Regions from separate parts of the Homo sapiens genome. Here region 1 is linked to region 2. The links are contacts of gene promoters, found by promoter capture Hi-C in blood cells and fetal thymus (Javierre and others, 2016). All regions are on one chromosome and are shown on one strand. Each heading gives the region's core, a stretch centred on a gene start or on the middle of the fragment in contact. The rest is flanking DNA. Distances are from core to core; before and after follow the strand shown. Region 1 holds the start of PEX19 (peroxisomal biogenesis factor 19). Region 2 holds the start of PIGM (phosphatidylinositol glycan anchor biosynthesis class M).

What was found. The method cuts DNA at HindIII sites, captures the fragments that hold promoters and counts their contacts. A CHiCAGO score of 5 or more calls a contact.
Region 1: a contact is called between the fragment with the promoter of PEX19 here and the fragment with the promoter of PIGM in region 2, in 4 of 17 cell types (erythroblasts, fetal thymus, M0 macrophages and 1 more). The highest score is 7.1, in erythroblasts.

Annotation. Positions count from the first base shown.
Region 1 is chr1:160,283,460-160,290,288 of GRCh38, reverse strand. It overlaps PEX19 (peroxisomal biogenesis factor 19), which reads left to right and starts at 5,156. Exons shown (of 8, transcript NM_002857.4): 1 at 5,156-5,234; 2 at 6,650-6,759. The coding sequence starts at 5,165. LOC107985219 (a long non-coding RNA gene) reads right to left here and starts at 5,924. Exons shown (of 3, transcript XR_001738265.2): 1 at 5,434-5,924; 2 at 3,928-3,972. It overlaps COPA (coat protein complex I subunit alpha), which reads left to right. Exons shown (of 33, transcript NM_004371.4): 33 at 73-1,695. The coding sequence ends at 132. The HindIII fragment of the contact is 4,290 bases long and covers 5,022-6,829 here.
Region 2 is chr1:160,029,678-160,036,076 of GRCh38, reverse strand. It overlaps PIGM (phosphatidylinositol glycan anchor biosynthesis class M), which reads left to right and starts at 4,087. Exons shown (of 1, transcript NM_145167.3): 1 at 4,087-6,399. The coding sequence starts at 4,338. The coding sequence ends at 5,609. The HindIII fragment of the contact is 5,226 bases long and covers 789-6,014 here.

The DNA.
Region 1 (6,829 bases), core at 3,907-6,406, 250 kb before region 2:
ATAGGGAATACATTTTCTAGGGTTCTCAATCTTACAAATCTCTAACTTGTTCCTTTGTTTGTTTTTCCACAGGTGACAGAGATTGGCAAAGATGTGATTGGTTTAAGGATCAGTCCTCTGCAGTTTCGCTAAGGCCCCCTTTGTGTGCATGGGTCAGTCACCATATGTTCCCCCCAGAGAATGTGTCTATATCCTCCTTCTAACAGCACCTTCCCCCTGCAGCTACTCTTCAGATCTGGCTCTCTGTACCCTAAAACCTAGTATCTTTTTCTCTTCTATGGAAAATCCGAAGGTCTAAACTTGACTTTTTTGAGGTCTTCTCAACTTGACTACAGTTGTGCTCATAATTGTCCTTGCCTTTCCAGCTTAATTATTTTAAGGAACAAATGAAAACTCTGGGCTGGGTGGAGTGGCTCATACCTGTAATCCCAGCACTTTGGGAGGCTACGGTGGGCAGATCATCTGAGGCCAGGAGTTCGAGACCTGCCTGGCCAACATGGCAACACCCCGTCTCTAATAAAAATATAAAAATTAGCCTGGCATGGTAGCATGCGCCTATAGTCCCAGCTGCTCAGGAGGCTGAGGCATGAGAATCGCTTGAACCTAGGAGGTGGAGGTTGCATTCAACTGAGATCATACCACTTCATTCCAGCCTGGGTGACAGAGCAAGACTCTGTCTCAAAAAAAAAAAAAAGGAAAACTCTGTGATGGACATTTGTTTAGTAAATCCCTTCAGTATTTATCCCTCCTTTCCCCACAGCAGCTTTCTTTCCTGTCAACTAGAAAGGAGCAGGATGTAATAAATACATTTTGGTGTGACTAGGCCACACCAACTCTTAATCATCTCCCATTTTCCTTAGACATTTAAATTTCAAGGCAGGTACCCTCTGTGTACTCAGAAATTTGAAGAAGTTATTTGGTTTTCCAAAATGCACACTGCGGGTTATTGATTTGTTCTTTACAACTATTGTTCTCATATTTCTCACACTAAATAAATCTCTATGAGAGCTTCTTGACTTGGCCATTTATTTCTTGGACACTCTCATGTTCTTGTTCACCCATGCAGGCACCCCACCAAAGTACATATCTTCCTTCCAGTAATAATTTTTAATTACAAAATAAACATCCACTATTGGAAAAAAAAAAAAAAAGCTAGCCGGGCATGGTGGTGGGTGCCTGTAATCCCAGCTACTCTGGAGGCTGAGGCAGAGGATTGCTTGAACCCGGGAGGCGGAGGTTGCAGTAAGCTGAGATCGCGCCACCGCACTCCAGCCTGGGCGACAGAGTGAGACTCCATCTCAAAAAAAAAGAAAGAAAAAAAGAAGCACATGTTTTTCATAGGGTATATATGAGGACCTAAACTGCTGTGAAAATGATAGAAAGCAAGTAGCTCCCTTATTCTGTTTTTGATTGCAGCCTTTTATCTTTTGCTAATTATAGCAATATTTATTGAGCACCTGCCATGTGACTGTCACTGTTCTAGATATTTTACATGTAATATACAGATAAAAGAATAGTACTTTATATATATTACAATGATACAATGATTACATTAACAATACAATATTTTGCTTGTCATATGCTAAGAATAATTGGGTAGAGTGACATTACTGTGCCTTCGATTAAAATAAGTACTTTTTTGCGTGTTAAATTCATGTTTTCAATAAATAATAAATGCATATAGTTGAAAAATCAGTAAATATAAAAAGCTATTCTGTGACAAATCTTTCCACCCTTTCATCAGCCACCCAGTTCCTATCACCTTCCCCTAAACAGGTAACCACTGTTACCAGCTTTCTTACATCCTTCCAGAAATTTTATATATATATATATATACACACACACACATATACATGCACATGCTGATATCACTATGCCATTCTCTATCTCCTTTTATACACAAATGAAACCACACTATTTAACAATTTTGTACCTTTGTTTTTTCATTTAACATTTTTGGTATTTTCTCGTATCAATATATTAGGGAGCTTCACTTTGTTTTTTACTTCTCTTCATACTATACGTTGTATTTTTTAGCTTTATCTTAAGAGTTGCTTTTTTAAACAGCATCCCTAAACTAAGGCTGCCTTCTCAACAGAGTACATACTACTAATGAGATTGTGCCATTGCACTCCACCCTGGGGTACAAGAGCGAGACTTCGTCTCAAAAAAAAAAAAAATGTACATATTAGCCGGGAGTGGTGGCTCACGCCTGTAATCCCACCACTTTGGGAGGCCAAGGCAGGCAGATCACCTGAGGTCAGGAGTTCGAGAACAGCCTGGCCAACACGGTGAAACCCTGTTTCTACGAAAAATACAAAAATTAGCTGGGTAGGGTGGCAGGCACCTGTAATCCCAGCTACTCAGGAGGCTGAGGCAGGAGAATTGCTTGAACCCGGGAGGCGGAGGTTGCAGTGAACTGAGATCACACCATTGCACTCCAGCCTAGGGGACAAGAGCAAGACTTTGTCTTAAAAAAAAAAAAAGGCCGGGCGTGGTGGCTCACGCCTGTAATCCCAGCACTTTGGGAGGCCAAGGCAGGCGGAACACGAGGTCAGGAGATCGAGACCATCCTGGCTAACATGGTGAAACCCTGTCTCTACTAAAAATACAAGATGTGAAATAATTGTGACTCCCAGGCAAGAATTAGAATTTGTTCGATAAACTGTGGAGAACCATTAAATCCTTAAGGAACAGAGTGATATGAAAGCGTTATAAAATACTGTTATTCAACAGTATTCGCTATACATTAGAAGGGCAGAAGGAGCAGTCAGTAGGTCAGTAAATACTGAGATGAGATGTTAGGAATATTAGGAGTAAAAATAGAAAAGCAGAAAGAAGTTTAAGAAATAATGCAAAGAAAGAATCATGCTTGTTTTTGACTCCATTTTAATTATCATCTATTATCTTTTAATTAACATGCTTATATTACATTAGTTTAAAGCCAATTGACCAAGTGTAGTGGCTCACATCTATAATCCCAGTACTTTGGGAGGCCAAGGTGGGCATATCACTTGAGGTCAGGAGTTAAAGACCAGCCTGGCCAATATGGTGAAACACTGTCTCTACTAAAAATACAAAAATTAGTTGGGCATGGTGGCGCGAGCCTGCAGACCCAGCTACTCAGGTGGCTGAGACAGGAGAATCACTTGAACCCGGGAGGTGGAGGCTGCAGTGAGCCAAAATTGCACCACTGCACTCCAGCCTGGGCAACAGTGAAACTCTGTCTCAAAAAATAAAACCAATAGAGATGCCTGTTGATAGACAAGTTTTCTTTTTTTGACGTGCTTGTTACAACTATAGCCATATTGGAGATACACGTGTAAGCAGTTTGAATGAGAAAGTCTGGAATAAATTATGTTGCAGGTGTTGGAAAACAGGTTTATCAGGAAAGGATTTGATTACAGAAGTTTAGAATTGTAAAGGACTTCAAAAGTGATTAGTGGCAGAATTGGGGCTGGAATTTAGGCTTTCTAACTCACAGTTCATAATATTTTGATCCCAAAACACACTACTTGTGGTTGGAAGAAAACAGGTTTTGCAGATATGATTTTACAAGTCTGTGCCCTATCTGTGAAGGACATAGTAAGTGCTTGATCTGGTGCTTGATGCAGTACTCAAATGTGTGTTTAGGAAGCTAAGAATGAAAGTGATGAGGTGACTTAACACAGGATTTTTTTTCATTTAAAATTCTTACCTTGTATCATACTGTGTGTATATCTCATCATACCTCCGGCTCACCCCCACTTAGCTACCTTACAGCAGGGGGTGGTCCTGATTTATCTCTCTGTCCTCACTGTGCCCAGAACAAGACCTTAATAATAGGTGCTCTCTAAGTGCGAAAACAGATTTGTATGTGAAACAGTTGCTACATTCTGACATCTGAATAGAACAATTCCAAAGGAGGAAAGGGACGTCTAGAGTTACCTCTATCTGAGCATTCCCCGTGTTCACTCAGTTGGAGGTTGGGTTCTGTGTGGAGAAAAGGAGATTGTTCAGGGAAAGTAAGTCTATTACTACTGCATTCGAATTGCCCTGCTCAGTCCAAGGTACCAGAGGCTCTCTTAATAACATGGAGTTCTAAGTTCCTGGCCGGCCCTGTGTCCTTTAATCAAACAGTTCTAATAGATAATAGGAAATGAGAGATGCCACTAGATTGGGCAGACAGATGTGCCTGATTAGGGACTGCGAGAGCAAAGAGTGGCCAATGAATGCCTACTAAGTTTTAAACCCTAGCCTGGGAGTTGGGCTTTACAGCAGTGAAGACAACAGACGAAAATCTTTGCGTTCATGGTGTTTAAATTCTGCAGGGTGGGGAGCGGAGAATAAAAAAGTACGGTAGATAGTATGTCAGATACTGTTCAGTGTTAGGAAGAAAAGGAACGGGAATGGCCAAGGAAAGCGTTTCAGAAAAGATAATATTTGAGGGAAACAATGAAGTGAAGCCGGGCGCAGTGGCTCACGCCTGTAATCCCAGCACTTCGGGAGGCCGAGGTGGGCGGATCAGCTGAGGTCCGGAGTTCGAGACCAGCCTGGCCAACCAGCCTGGCCAACATGTTAAAACCCCGTCTCTACAAAAATTAGTCGGACGTGGTGTCGCGCGCCTGTCATCCCAGCTACACGGGAGGCTGAGGCAGGAAGAATCGCTTGAACCCGGGAGGCCAAGGCTGCAGTGAGCCGAGATGGCGCCACTGCATTCCAGCGTAGGCGACAGAGCAAGATTCCTTCTCAAAAAAAAATAAAAAAAAAAAAATGAAGTGAGAGAAAGTAGTATGTTATGTGCCATAATTGTCATATCAATTATATATGTTTAGATTCTGGTTATTTGTAGGCAGTTTGTCTCAATCTGGCCTACTCACAGCTCAGGAAAAAATAATGAAAGAGCTTCGCCAGGTAATTTGGGAAGTTGAAAGAAAGGAGTCCGGGCCTCTAAAACCAGACAGAAAATAACCCTATCTTATCCCTAATTCTGTTTCACAGGAGAAAAGGGAAAAATACCCAAAACACAAACACTCAAAGCTTCCTGGCCCTTTAAAAATGGCGGTTCCGCACTGGTCAACAATACCATTGGTTACCCGAGGCAGAAGAGGGCGGGAGCGAAGGGGTGGAGGGCGTGTCGGCACCGAGGAGGTCCCGCCTCCTACGGCAAGTCGGAGGTAGCAAGATGGCCGCCGCTGAGGAAGGCTGTAGTGTCGGGGCCGAAGCGGACAGGGAATTGGAGGAGCTTCTGGAAAGTAAGAGCCCATAGTGGGAAAGGCCCGAAGAGGGCACGTGTGAGGACCCATTCTGGGGGTTAAGTGAACCTGAGATATTAGGGACGGGCAGGAGAGGCTCTCCAAAGGTTAAATGGGGGCGGAGAGTCTGACCCCCGAGCCCCCCAAAAATCTCTGGGTCATCCTGCCCCACCCCGGCGACTGGAGCTGGGGAGCTCACCTGGGGTCCCTCAGTGGTCCGGATGGTGGATGTTTCCGCAGGACGGCGTTTCATGATACCTCTTCAAACTCCTCTTTAGGTTACTGAGTTCTTAAAGTTCGACTTCAGCAGCAGTAGCAGCAGCAGCAGCATTTGGTTCTTGCTGGGTAGCGAACTACGCACTCACTGATTGCTTACATTAACTCCTAGCAAGCTCGTGGCCGGTCCTTGTGTGCCTCGTCCTGTCTTCCTTAACACGAAAGACACTTTTCTCCTCCTAGTCCTTTTCTCTTTCTCTCGTTAGGCCCCTTAACAGTTCTTTCATCTTGTCAGTAGCTCAAGCGGACTCCTTTCCCTTATTTTGAGAAACTGAGGATGTGGCGATTTCAGGGGAAAGCAGTTCACCCTCCTGAAAGACGGGGGATGTTTTCTTAGCATTACTCTCCACTCCCCTGTTGACTTCCTGCCCAGAGTAGGGCCAGTGCTCTCTCCCTAGGCCTGGCGAACAGAATGGTGGTGAGGACACAGGCTTTTCAGGGCAGAGGTGAATTTGTAATCGCTTGCTCAATCACGGAGATGTGGGCAGGCAGAAAAATGAACAGAAACCCTGAGGAGTGCCAAGTGACTGTGTAAATTAGTGTACGGTTATCTGCAGAGATCAGGCCAAAGGGAGCTCTAGAAGGTTGTTGGGGAGCACTAAACTGGAGAATAAGAGAAGATAGTTTAATGCCGTACCATGGAGTCTGGTATGTAGTCCCTCAGTCTGTGCTGGTACCAGTACCAACAGGAAGCTGGGTGGGATGTCCTGTGCTTTCTCACCAAGTTATTCCTTTTAGAGCTCCAGAGTGAGTTCAGAGGGATGAGGACATCTGTGTTCTCTACTACTGTTGGGTATTTGTATGGGATTTCTAGGGAATCGTTAGGGTGTGGCAAGGGAGACACTATAGATGGAGATGTCTCTGCAGAACTTTTTAATCCTCTCCTCCCAGCTCTGAGATGGACATTTGTTCCACCTTAAGGGATTTCTTTGCCTTTGCTCACAATAAATTAGGTAATCCAGAAGGAAGTAGGAGGCTCATTGAGGGTGGTCTGGGGAGGTGGGGGACTCAAGGAGGAAAATTGAGGAAAGTTGGCAATTTGAAAAATCATATTCCTAATGCTTTGCCCAGAAACCACCCAGCCTTGCTTGCATTCTCATCTGTCGCCAACACACACACCATGTCTCTTGTCTCTGAAGGTGCTCTTGATGATTTCGATAAAGCCAAACCCTCCCCAGCACCCCCTTCTACCACCACGGCCCCTGATGCTTCGGGGCCCCAGAAGAGATCGCCAGGAGACACTGCCAAAGTATAAATTCCACCCCCTTAAGGGATGGGGAGGGGATGGGCATGCAGCCCTGAGCAGAGGTTGGGCAGGC
Region 2 (6,399 bases), core at 2,838-5,337:
TCTTAACTCTTACACTATGCCCATCTGAGATCAAATAAATCCCCTTAAAAGCTAGAGCACTTACCACAGCTGCATTTGTATATTATTTGTCAATTTATTTGACTAATGTCTGTGTAGCTTACTAGACTTCAAGTGTCACATGAATGGGATTCATGTCAAGTGTTTGGTCACGAGTACAGCCCAGCACCTCATATAGTGCCCGACATGTATGATGTTTGATAAATTAGCAGGAGGGAAAGAAAGCAAAGAGAGAAAGAAATGGCCTAAAGTATGCAGTGGAGCTTGTATATCTTGTTAAATAACTATAAAAGAGTTAGATAACGAGCATGACATAATTACTATTAAAAAAGAGAACAGACAATAAACATCACTGTTTTGAGGAGGGAGAGACTATTTCACTTGTTAAGGTCTAGGAAGAGGAGTTGAGAGTTGGGTTCAACATTGAAAAACCAAATAGCATTTAAGTAAGTAAAGAGAAACAGGTCTCTTTGTAGGAAGTACAGCATGAAGAAAGTGTCATGAGAAGAAAGCACAAGGCATATTTTGGGAACAGTAAACCTAAAACAGAGGCATTATAGGTGAATAGGATGGAAAGCTAAGGTAAAGCCAGAAAATAGGGGGACTGAATATCAGGCTAAAGTGTTCATTATTTTTTTCTTTAGGCAGTCAGGAACCACTGAAGATGTTTGATGGAGGAAAGAATCTAAGTAAAGTACTATTAATTAATATCAATCTGGTAGTAGAATTGAGACATAAGACATTAAATCAGTTAAGAGATTTTTAAAGCTTGAGGGAAAGGCAATTGTCACAGATCCTGGTATAGTATAGTATAGGTGTTCGCTACGTATTATTTGAGTTGTTGAAGGTCTGAACTAAGGTGCAGGATGCTGGGCATGGAAAGAATTAGAAATAGATTCCAAAGAAATGACAAAGCAAGACATATGAACAAAATCTAGTGAAAAAGAAAGTGATTAAAGTAGTCAAGGTTCTAGCAGGAAACAGATGGTATACTCAAAGGGCCAGTGGACATGTTTTAATGAAGAAACTATTTGCAAAGGTATGGGCAAGTTTAATAAATCAACAAGATATGGTGATGTACCCAGGCACTCGCAAAGTAGGACGCCTTTACCAGCCTTAAACCTGAAGGGACAGTTACTGGAACCATGAGACTTGTACCCAAAGGAGAGAGCTATAGCTTCAACAGGAGCCATGGCTTTAGGTGAGGAATTCCAGACACTGCCAAAGATCTGCTAGTGCCTCCCACTGGTCTATTCTAATGGGAAGCCAGAGAACAAGGGAGATTGAGTGATGCTACCCATACAGCCTAACCTCTTGGAACACAGAACAGGGCAAAAAAGATGAATAGTGGATATGGAAGGGTAATGAGAGTATATGCAGCATAGTGAACAAGGACAAGGTTCCTGCTAGGGAAACTAAAGTTGAGCGATCCATGTTTGTGCTTTCCTTAGTCATTGGCTCTAAAAGGATAGAAATCTAGGAGCAGATAGTGAAAGGGGGAATTAAGAAGGATTGTAAGTAACAGTCCGAGAGGTAATGAACAGTTGAGCATTTGAAAAAAATGTAACTCTTTCAGAAAGAGGTGAGAAAATACAATCCCTAAACCCAATGCAAAAAGTTCAATATGGGGTCCTCGGACCCTGTGATGTATCTCTTCCACCCAGAAATAGTAACTAAAGTTGGACCTCTCTGTCCAATTTGTTTTACAGATTCCAGTCTCTTCTTCGTTCCCACAACTGCTATCTACATCTCACTCCTTTGACTTCAGTGACATGCTTAGTTTTTTTTTTATTTTATTTTTTTATTAGTTGTTTCCTTATCTGCCTAAATTTGGTGCCTCCCATCTCTCTACTAGGACAGCCATGTAGGGACAGATTGACTGAAACCTTTCTGCTATACTACTGAAACCAATCCAGCCACAAGGACCCTTACTTAGTTAATCCTCAGACACCTACCTCCCATATTTTCTATCTTAGGGAACTAAGCCTCACTTATCTATTATTTGCAGAAGAAAAGAATAAATCAGAGGTAGAAAGAGTCACAGTGAGAGAGAATATCCAGAATATCAAGATGAGAGATCAATAAGAGAAAACATAGGAAAATTAGAATTTGTGATCAACATTTTATTGGCAAGTCAGCCACATAATGATTAAGATATTCTAGGTCAGACAGACTGGGTTTTGAGTTCTAGCACTGTCACTAGTTAGCTATGTGACTTGGGAAAATTACTTAATCTCCATAAGCCTTGGTTTTCTTCATTTGTAAAGGTGGGAATATCTACCTTACATGAAAAGTACTTAGCATAATGCCTGGTACATTGCAAATGAGTCCTCAACAAATCCAGCTATTATAAATAATAGTAATCATCATCATCATAATCATCATTATATGAGTGGTGATGTGCTGCCACTATATATATGGCTAATATACTGCAAAAAAATGGTTAGAATTATCAATCTAAGGCATGTAATGATACCAAGGCATATAAAAGGACATAGAGCTATCACAATATGAATATGGAATATATAAGATTAACACAGTTCATCTCCAAGGGATAAATTGAAGTGTAGGATGGATGAGCAGCAGGTAGTTCTGGGAGCTGCATGTTCAGACTGCATGAAGTCACCTCCTTTTCCTTATTCTAGTCTAGAAGACTTCCCCTAGGAAGCAGGCTTATTCTATAAAATCCAATTAGTCAGTATTTACTAAGCATTTACCATGTGCCTAAGACTACAATAAATTACACATAATTGAAAAAAATTAAGGATAAGATATAATTTCTACCCCCAAGAACCCTATAATCTCTTGTGAGGGCTATGAATACAATCTAAAATAAAGTATCAAATTCTACAATGCGGACTATGTAAGTGCACTAAGTAACCACGGAAAGGGAAGAGCTAATGGGTTACAGTCCTTGGCAAGAAATTCATGGAAGTAGGGTTGGAGTGGGGTGGGGGGAGCAGGGGACCTTGACATACATAAAGGATATTTAAAAGGGAAAATAACTGGGAGTTGGGAGCAATCCAAAGATGCCACTCTAGAAATATTCTGGTAGGAGGAACCTCTAAAATCAATTCAACTTTACTGAATGGCTACTAGTACTGTGTTAGATGTTGAGGTAGAGAAAAGAACAAGATAATCTCTGATACCGAAGAATTGAAAGTGTCCTGATGGAAAACTAGGAGAGCAAAACAAACAAAAACAGTTATTACAAAGCAGTGTGACAAATGCTGTAACAAAGGAATGACCAGGGAGTTCTGGAGCACTGGGAGAACTTTTAGTAGCATGGCAGGGTCTTCTGTGTGAGTGATTTTCTGGAACTTAGATCCCGTCCGCCCCAGTCTACCTATCCTCGGACAGGGGAGGGGACTGGCATCTAAGTCATTCATTCTGCGTGATGAGGAAGTGAGTGGGAGCTGGGAGCTAACACTTGCACTGATGCCTGAAGGGTTGAGTAGGTATTTGCCAGAGTGATTGGAGAGCGGATGGCAACTTTGACAGAAGAAATAGCAAATACAGAGATACTGAGGCATAAGGGGCTGACAAGTTAAGGAATTTTGTGACGCTTTCCTGTCTTCTTTCCCATCACCTTCACCTAGGGTTGCCGGATAAAATACAAGCTGCCCACTTAAATCTGAATCTCTGATTACCAACTAGTAATTTAAAAATATAAGTATGCCTCCAATATTGCATGGAACATACACACTCAGCCCCCTTCAACTCATCCTGTCCTGTCCGGGGCCCACAAATCCCCGGTGAATACCGGCGAGCTAGTGGAGTAAAGCATGAGAAGGCTTATCTTCCTTTCACTCCTACATTTTTCACTCTCGGATCTCCAGCCCAGGACTGAAGGATGTAGCGCGCAGCCCGCAGCTCGCTGCTCGTCGGAGGGTTTTCCTCTGAGGACTGGAAATGGGGCGCGGGAAGAGGGCGGGGGGCGGCGGGCTGTCACTTACAAAGAAATCTCACTCCACTCCATAAAATCCTCAAGCCAGTGCCGGATTTCCCGGCAAGCGGACGTCTCCCCTCCCACGGACCGGAAATCCCGCCTCCGCTGGAAGAAGAAGCGGAAGCGAGACCGTCCATCCAGAGGAAGGCAAGTTTTTGGCTCGGGCGGCTGAGAAGACCGCGCGGGGCTGGAGACAGGTAGCAGTACGGGGGCGGGGCTTCATGCCGGATGTGATAGTCTGCAGTCGTTTCGGTTGGCAGCCTGGCGGGTGGGAGATGCGGCGGCCACCTGCTGCAAAGAACCGAAGGGAAGGTTAGAAGTACGAAGGCAGTTTGGAGCTGGGGCTAAGCAGCTGTCGCACGGTCAGATCATGGGCTCCACCAAGCACTGGGGCGAATGGCTCCTGAACTTGAAGGTGGCTCCAGCCGGCGTCTTTGGTGTGGCCTTTCTAGCCAGAGTCGCCCTGGTTTTCTATGGCGTCTTCCAGGACCGGACCCTGCACGTGAGGTATACGGACATCGACTACCAGGTCTTCACCGACGCCGCGCGCTTCGTCACGGAGGGGCGCTCGCCTTACCTGAGAGCCACGTACCGTTACACCCCGCTGCTGGGTTGGCTCCTCACTCCCAACATCTACCTCAGCGAGCTCTTTGGAAAGTTTCTCTTCATCAGCTGCGACCTCCTCACCGCTTTCCTCTTATACCGCCTGCTGCTGCTGAAGGGGCTGGGGCGCCGCCAGGCTTGTGGCTACTGTGTCTTTTGGCTTCTTAACCCCCTGCCTATGGCAGTATCCAGCCGCGGTAATGCGGACTCTATTGTCGCCTCCCTGGTCCTGATGGTCCTCTACTTGATAAAGAAAAGACTCGTCGCGTGTGCAGCTGTATTCTATGGTTTCGCGGTGCATATGAAGATATATCCAGTGACTTACATCCTTCCCATAACCCTCCACCTGCTTCCAGATCGCGACAATGACAAAAGCCTCCGTCAATTCCGGTACACTTTCCAGGCTTGTTTGTACGAGCTCCTGAAAAGGCTGTGTAATCGGGCTGTGCTGCTGTTTGTAGCAGTTGCTGGACTCACGTTTTTTGCCCTGAGCTTTGGTTTTTACTATGAGTACGGCTGGGAATTTTTGGAACACACCTACTTTTATCACCTGACTAGGCGGGATATCCGTCACAACTTTTCTCCGTACTTCTACATGCTGTATTTGACTGCAGAGAGCAAGTGGAGTTTTTCCCTGGGAATTGCTGCATTCCTGCCACAGCTCATCTTGCTTTCAGCTGTGTCTTTCGCCTATTACAGAGACCTCGTTTTTTGTTGTTTTCTTCATACGTCCATTTTTGTGACTTTTAACAAAGTCTGCACCTCCCAGTACTTTCTTTGGTACCTCTGCTTACTGCCTCTTGTGATGCCACTAGTCAGAATGCCTTGGAAAAGAGCTGTAGTTCTCCTAATGTTATGGTTTATAGGGCAGGCCATGTGGCTGGCTCCTGCCTATGTTCTAGAGTTTCAAGGAAAGAACACCTTTCTGTTTATTTGGTTAGCTGGTTTGTTCTTTCTTCTTATCAATTGTTCCATCCTGATTCAAATTATTTCCCATTACAAAGAAGAACCCCTGACAGAGAGAATCAAATATGACTAGTGTATGTTCCACACCCTCTGCTACTGTGTTACATTCTGATTGTCTTGTATGGACCAGAAGAGAGCTTTGGGACATTTTTTCTGAACATTCTAAGCATTCTAGTGAAAGTTCCCATGTTCCAACAGAACTTAAAAGCAATGTTTGCCTTATATATAAAAGGGACACAATAATTGAGGTCCACCTTCTAGGAAATCCTAGGACTCGTTTATTTGGGACATGGTGGGAATAAAGGTCACATATTGGAAAATGGAAAGGCTGATGAAACTATCAGATACTAAAACATTCTTAAAATAGAGGAATATAGTTAGAGACATCAGGTTTAAGCCAGTATTTGTTCCTGTTTTACAATGCTTCTGTCTTAAGCTGTGTCTTAACTTTTAACACCCATCTTTTCTTTCTAAAGCTTTCCTGACAGCTGTGAAAATCCAAAAAATATTCTTAAACTGTGTATGGTGGCCCTTGCCTGTAGTCTCAGCACTTTGGGAGGCTGAGGTGGGAGGGTCGCTTGAGTTCAGGAGTTCTAGACCCACCTGGGGCAAGATGGTGAGACCTAGTCTCAAAAAAAAAAAAAAAAATTAGCCAGGTGTTGTGGTGCACCCCTGTAGTCATAGCTGCATGGGAGGCTGAGGTGGGAGAATTGCTTGAGCCCAGAGCAAGACCCTGTCTCAAAAAAAAAAAAAAAAAAAAAAAGGAAAGGACAACTTTTTAGATAGAAAAGTATTAAATAATACTAAGATGCTTAGTAGTATTATTTTAGAGAGTTTTAAACTTCTATATTAAATGTGGGGTC